Regions from separate parts of the Homo sapiens genome. Here region 1 is linked to region 2. The links are contacts of gene promoters, found by promoter capture Hi-C in human tissues and cell types (Jung and others, 2019). All regions are on one chromosome and are shown on one strand. Each heading gives the region's core, a stretch centred on a gene start or on the middle of the fragment in contact. The rest is flanking DNA. Distances are from core to core; before and after follow the strand shown. Region 1 overlaps UTRN (utrophin). Region 2 holds the start of UTRN (utrophin).

Region 1 (2,736 bases), core at 103-2,602, 420 kb before region 2:
ACTATAGGTTGAGCCCATATCCTCCAGAGACTGGCTTAATTGGCCTGGGTAAATATAACTGAGCATTGATATCTTTTATATGTCCTAGGAAAGTGCAGCCAGAATTGAAAACAACTGATCTATACCAATTCTTTCAATTAATAGCCTCACTGAGTCCAGTGAGATTAAGTGATTTTTCCAAGCTATTAGGTTTTATGCTATTCCTGTGTTCTCCCAAACAACAAAATAAAGAGACATGATTTCTTCCCTGATCATACAGCAAGTATGGAACAGAGATGGTCTAGAAGTCAACTATCTCAATCTCCATTGTTACCCATTAGGTTTTTTTCTCTCTAATAATGTTAAAGGCTATTTAATTTATTTCATCAACTTTAACCCTTACATTCTCAACTGGGAACAAAAATTGGTTCTTGGGGTGAAAAAAATCTTAGATATGGATTGTGACCTTCCAAAATCAGCCTACCCAACAAAATCTTTTGTATTAATTTCTCTCATTAGGAAGAAATTTATAGTTAAAGCTATTTAATTTAATTTGAATTTAATTTTTGTAATTGAAAAGGAGGGTAATGATAAAAAGGTTGAGAAAAAATGCTTTAAAGGGTTTTACAGGCATACTACAATCCAGGATTGCTGTGCTCTATGTGCTATGTATAGTCCTATTAGTAGCTATTTGTTGCAAGATACTTGGAGCCAAATAATGTTTACAGTATAGGTTCCTGGCTACTCTTTATGCTGTAATTTCACTCTGTCTATCATGGGCAGTATTAGAAAATACACTGGGTTTTCACACACTATCAGTATTTTACCTGGATTGTAGTGGAGAATTTAGCATATTGATGCATGCAATGGGAAAAAAAAGAATTTTGTTAAAATTTGTAAATGTTCATAAAAATCCCAGATATACAGTGGGATGAGTATCTCTGGGTAGGTAAAAAAAATTACGGAAAATTTTCCCTCACAGTCAGTAGCTTTGTTTGATATTTACCAATAAGTATATGATGACATACTTGAAATGTATTTGCAGAATGTCATTGGAATATTATAATGAGAATACGTAATCAAGTTTAGGACTAAATGAAAGATGCTGTCTCATGTATGCTTTAAATAGAGAATTGATTTTTTTTCAAAATAAAGTTATTTTTCCTTAAAAAATAAAATAAACTGCCAGGCATATAGTAAGTAAATGAAAGTAAGAGAGGGAAGGAGGGATGAAAACTCAGGTTTGCTTAAACTACACTGTGCCTCTCATGTTCCTCTACCGTAAATAAGAGGACTGGACTCTTATTTCTTAGGGTTCTTTCAGTCCAGTAATTGACAATTCTAAATTATACATGAATATACACTAAATAAAGACTTTTCCTGATCAATGGAATATGACAGCAGAGGAAAAGGACATTTTCAAGGACTTAAAAAAAAAAAAAGCTGCCCTGAAATATAGAGCAATCTCTTACACACCCATAAGAGATTTTGATTTCAAGAAAAGACTCAGGATAAGTTAGAGACTTAGGTTTATGTTCGAACACTGGCCAAAAACTATTAAATAAACTCTTAGGAAGGGAATTCTTGGATGCAAGGCTAAGGTTAAACTATGCTTAGACTATTCGATAATTATGACTGATGATGTTCAGTAAGATAAATAATTACGGGTAGGTACCACACTTCTTTAAATATTGCTCTAAATCTACAAATGCATAATCATTAGCCCTAACTGTAATAATGTAGATTTATATTAGTATGAATTAATGTTAATTATATATATTTTATATAATATTTATAGTAACGTAATTTTAAAACATTACTCTTGGCAATTGGTAAAGAAGGTTGCTTTTGACAGAATATACATAATTAAATAAAATTATATACTGCCCTTCAGCACTTTACTTTTCCTAAATTACTTTCATTTCCACTATTTCATTTGATTGTCAGAACAATTCTGTGTAGAAATGGAACTACTTGCTACAGTTTGAATGTCTATGTGTCACCAAAATTTACAGGTTGAAATCCTAACTCCCATAGTGATGGTATTGGGAGGTGGGTCTTTGGAAGGTGATTAGGGCATGAGTGAGGAGCTGTCATCAATGGGATCAGTATCATATAAAAGACTACCTTCCACTATGGGAGGACACAGTGAGATGACATCATCCATGAACCAGACAGTGGGCCCTTGGCAGACACCAAATCTACTAGTGCACTGATCTTGAACTTCTCCGCCTTCAGAACTGTAAGAAATAAATTTCTATTGTTTATAAGCCACCCAGTTTATAGTATTTTGTTACTGCAGCCCAAAGGAACTAAGATACTACTTATTTCCATACACTGAAGCTTGGGTAAGTCAAATGACTTTTTCAGGGTCACCCAGGTCATCAGTGACAGAGCCAGCCTTTAAATAAAAGTATTCTCATTCTAGCTCAGTGCCTTTTCTACTACCAGTACCTCACTCACACCTCTAACCCAAATTATCACACCTATGAGGAGCCAACAACCCTCCTTACCTGCCTCCAGTGCACCCTAAAACCCATGGCCACACACAATTCACAGTAGATTATCTACATTACAGATCTTGTGTCTCACATTAAAAAATGTGACACTGGACTTTCAAACCTTTACTCACAAAGCAACAGCAAATGTCACAACCTATAAAGAAAATATGAAGAATTCATGTTTTTGGGTTTTTTTGTTTGTTTTTGAGATGGAGTCTCACTGTGTCGCCAGGCTGGAGTGCAGTGGCGTGATCTT
Region 2 (2,727 bases), core at 76-2,575:
ACAGCCTTCAATTGGTGCTTTGTTGGTTTTTAAGTGGCCTTGAGCAACCACAGCCTCGGACCCCGGGCCAAAGCGGGGCATGAATTACCTTGTCAGTTGCAGCAAGAGATCCCCAGAGTCCGGAAAAGGAGAGCCGGCGACTGCGCGGGACTACACACCAATGGGGCGCCCCCCTCCTCCTGTCCCCTCAGTCTCTCCAGGGCCGCTGCCAGGGAGCTTGGCGATCGCGCCACACTCTCCGGAGCCCCACCCTTGGGAGCAGCAACCACCCAGAGGTCAAGCACGTTCCCCGCCGGGCGGCTGGCTGGGAAGCGCTCCGCTGGCCGCCGACCACACAGCCACCCTCTGCCCACCCTCTCCTGTGGACACCGCCGGAGCCCCGCCTTCCCCGGGCCCGGGTGTCTGTGACAGACTCTCCTAAGAGGCCACGTCCCCTCTTGCAAATCACTGGCCCAGCGCCCTGCACCGCGCGATGCACGGAGGGCGACTCTGTCACCCCGGCGGGGAGGAAGATTAGGGGAGCAGGGAGGCAGCACAGAGCTGGTCAGATAAGTTTGGATCGTTCACAACTAGTACGGATCCCAAGGACCTCCACGCCCGAGCTCTCCACGCCTCCGGCATTCTCTCTCGCACCGCGGGGAGCTAAACTGAGGCCCCGAGGAAAGGGCACGCAAAAGTTACTCCCATCTTCGACTCTGGGACTTGGGAAGCAGCTCGGGACGCCGATCCCAGGCGGAAGAACCACAGAAAGAGCCATCCTCCTCCCGGCCCCCGCCCCATTCCCTCGGGGGCTGTAGTCACATTACCAGCCCGAGGCTTCAATAATGCATGGGCTTACCTGCTGCCCGCGGGCCTCCTCGCCTGCCGGTCGCCACCGCCGCACCCCGAGCTGGCCAAGGGCTCCTCTAGGAGTTTGACACGGAGTAACCGCGGGGGTGTGTGCGAGTGTTAGTTTGGTGGTGCGATGTATTTAAAAAAAAAAATAAAGCTTGGAGAAGCAGACACGAACCGAAATTTTAAAAAAAGAAAGAAAGAAAGAGAAATTGACACCCGACTGAAAACGCCCCTTACTTGTGCAATCTTCCTGCCTGGTAGTTCCGCCAAAAACAAAACAGTCAAAGCGCAAACCTGGAAGGGGCGCGCAGGCACCAACTTTGCCAAACGCTACAGAGTTTTCCGTTTGCAGAAATGACCCAAAAGAAGGGGGGCGCCGCTCCCCGTGATTCCCCAATCGGCTTCTGGAGCCAGAGGCTCCTCCTCGCCCCTCGGCGGGAGAAAGCCCGCGGCCGGCTGCTGCTGCCCGCTTCCCTGCTCCGAGGAAAAACGACTCCACAACTTTGTGCGCGAGAGAGGCTCGCTCCTTCGGCGGCTCCTCCTCCTCCTCCCCGCTGCGGGCCTGCCCCTTTGTTGGAGCCGAGCGCTGGAGGCGGAGGAGGGAGGGTGGGGCGCAGGACCGCTGGGTCGCGCGTTGCCGCCCCCACCCCCCGGGAAGGGGCTCGCCTCCGGGCAGCCAGGGGTCCGCTCTCCAGATGAGAAGGGTGCAGATCAGCGCCAGCCCTCCGGCCCGCGCCTCTGCAGCGCTCCGGCTCCCCCTCGGCGCTCTCGCCCCGCCGCCGCCGGCCCAGCAACTTTGTTCCGGAAGATCAGCCCCACTACGTTCCCGGGTCAGCGTCTGCCGGGCCTCGGCGGTCACCGCGGCCACCGCGTCGGGAACTTGGCGCCCCAAGTCACCTGACTGCGCGCCCCGTCAATCAGCGCCGGCCCTGCGCGCCCTCCCAGCCCGCAGCAGCCCGGCTCGGCGCTTGGCTGGCCTGGGGCGCGCGCTCCAGAGTGAACCGTGCGTGCCGGGAGCCGGGAGTCCGGAGACCGAACCAGAATGGATGCCTCGAGCAGACACAATTCCCCTTATTCAGATTATCCGAAAATGTGAGTCACGTCCCCTTAGGCAAAACAGGTCTCTAGTTAGGGTGATATTTTTTTAAGAGATAAATTCCAATCTGCCTTCCAACTCACCCCATCTCAGTTTGCTGACGTTGCTGATTTTTTTTTTACCCCTAGTTCCAACCGTATATTTATTTTACATTATTTCTCTAGTGTCGTTGTTAATATTGAAAAAGAAGTTTTCTCTTACATTAGTTTGTATTACAAGTAGTGTTTGCGCTGACCTTATTTTTCTGTTTTCCAATATGCACACACAAACGCACATCTGTTATAGAGCCTGTTCCAAGCTTGAGAGGTTGACCAAAAAATATCTGGGAAGAAATGAGCTCGTGATGTGTGTGCATTTTTCTTATTTACACATTTCATTGCTCGTGTGTTCCTGTGATTCTTTTACACGATCAGCACACGTGGGAGGGGAAAGAAAACAGCAACCTGAGTTCCTAGTTCGTATTAACAGAGAAAAGGATGGTTGATACTGGAGCGCCGGTTTATTGCTGGCTTAATATTTGAGTTAATTTACGCGGCAGTAAAGATTAAACCACTAGGGGCCTTAAACTAATTTTCAGAAAGAGTTTACTCGCCTTTTGTTATAGTGAAAGTTTCCCCCATCCATCCCTAAGTGCTCCAGGGAGGGGGCAGGTAGGAGATTCCCAAAAGAGACTCTTCCTTGTAAGGTTTCTAGGACAGTTTCCTTCCTTTTGATGATTTTCTACGTATAAGCCAAATAAAATCCAAAGGATTAACTTGAAATGGGTATGATTTTATTCATTCACTTCATTCATTCAT

Evidence for each region. Contacts are between HindIII fragments. The study calls those that stand out against the background at their distance.
Region 1: a contact is called between a fragment that was not itself captured here and the fragment with the promoter of UTRN in region 2, in 2 of the 25 tissues and cell types used here (hippocampus and spleen).

Annotation. Positions count from the first base shown.
Region 1 is chr6:144,704,911-144,707,646 of GRCh38, reverse strand. All of the region lies in intron 53 of UTRN (utrophin), which reads right to left. Among named protein-coding and RNA genes, the nearest start is that of SNORA98, 300 kb to the right of the region's middle. The HindIII fragment of the contact is 4,616 bases long and covers 1-2,736 here.
Region 2 is chr6:144,283,933-144,286,659 of GRCh38, reverse strand. UTRN (utrophin) reads right to left here and starts at 1,325. Exons shown (of 75, transcript NM_007124.3): 1 at 839-1,325. It overlaps LOC124901418, which reads right to left and starts at 162. Exons shown (of 1, transcript XM_047419641.1): 1 at 1-162. RefSeq lists silencers at 1,386-1,485, 1,696-1,755 and an enhancer at 1,886-1,955. The HindIII fragment of the contact is 2,482 bases long and covers 1-1,608 here.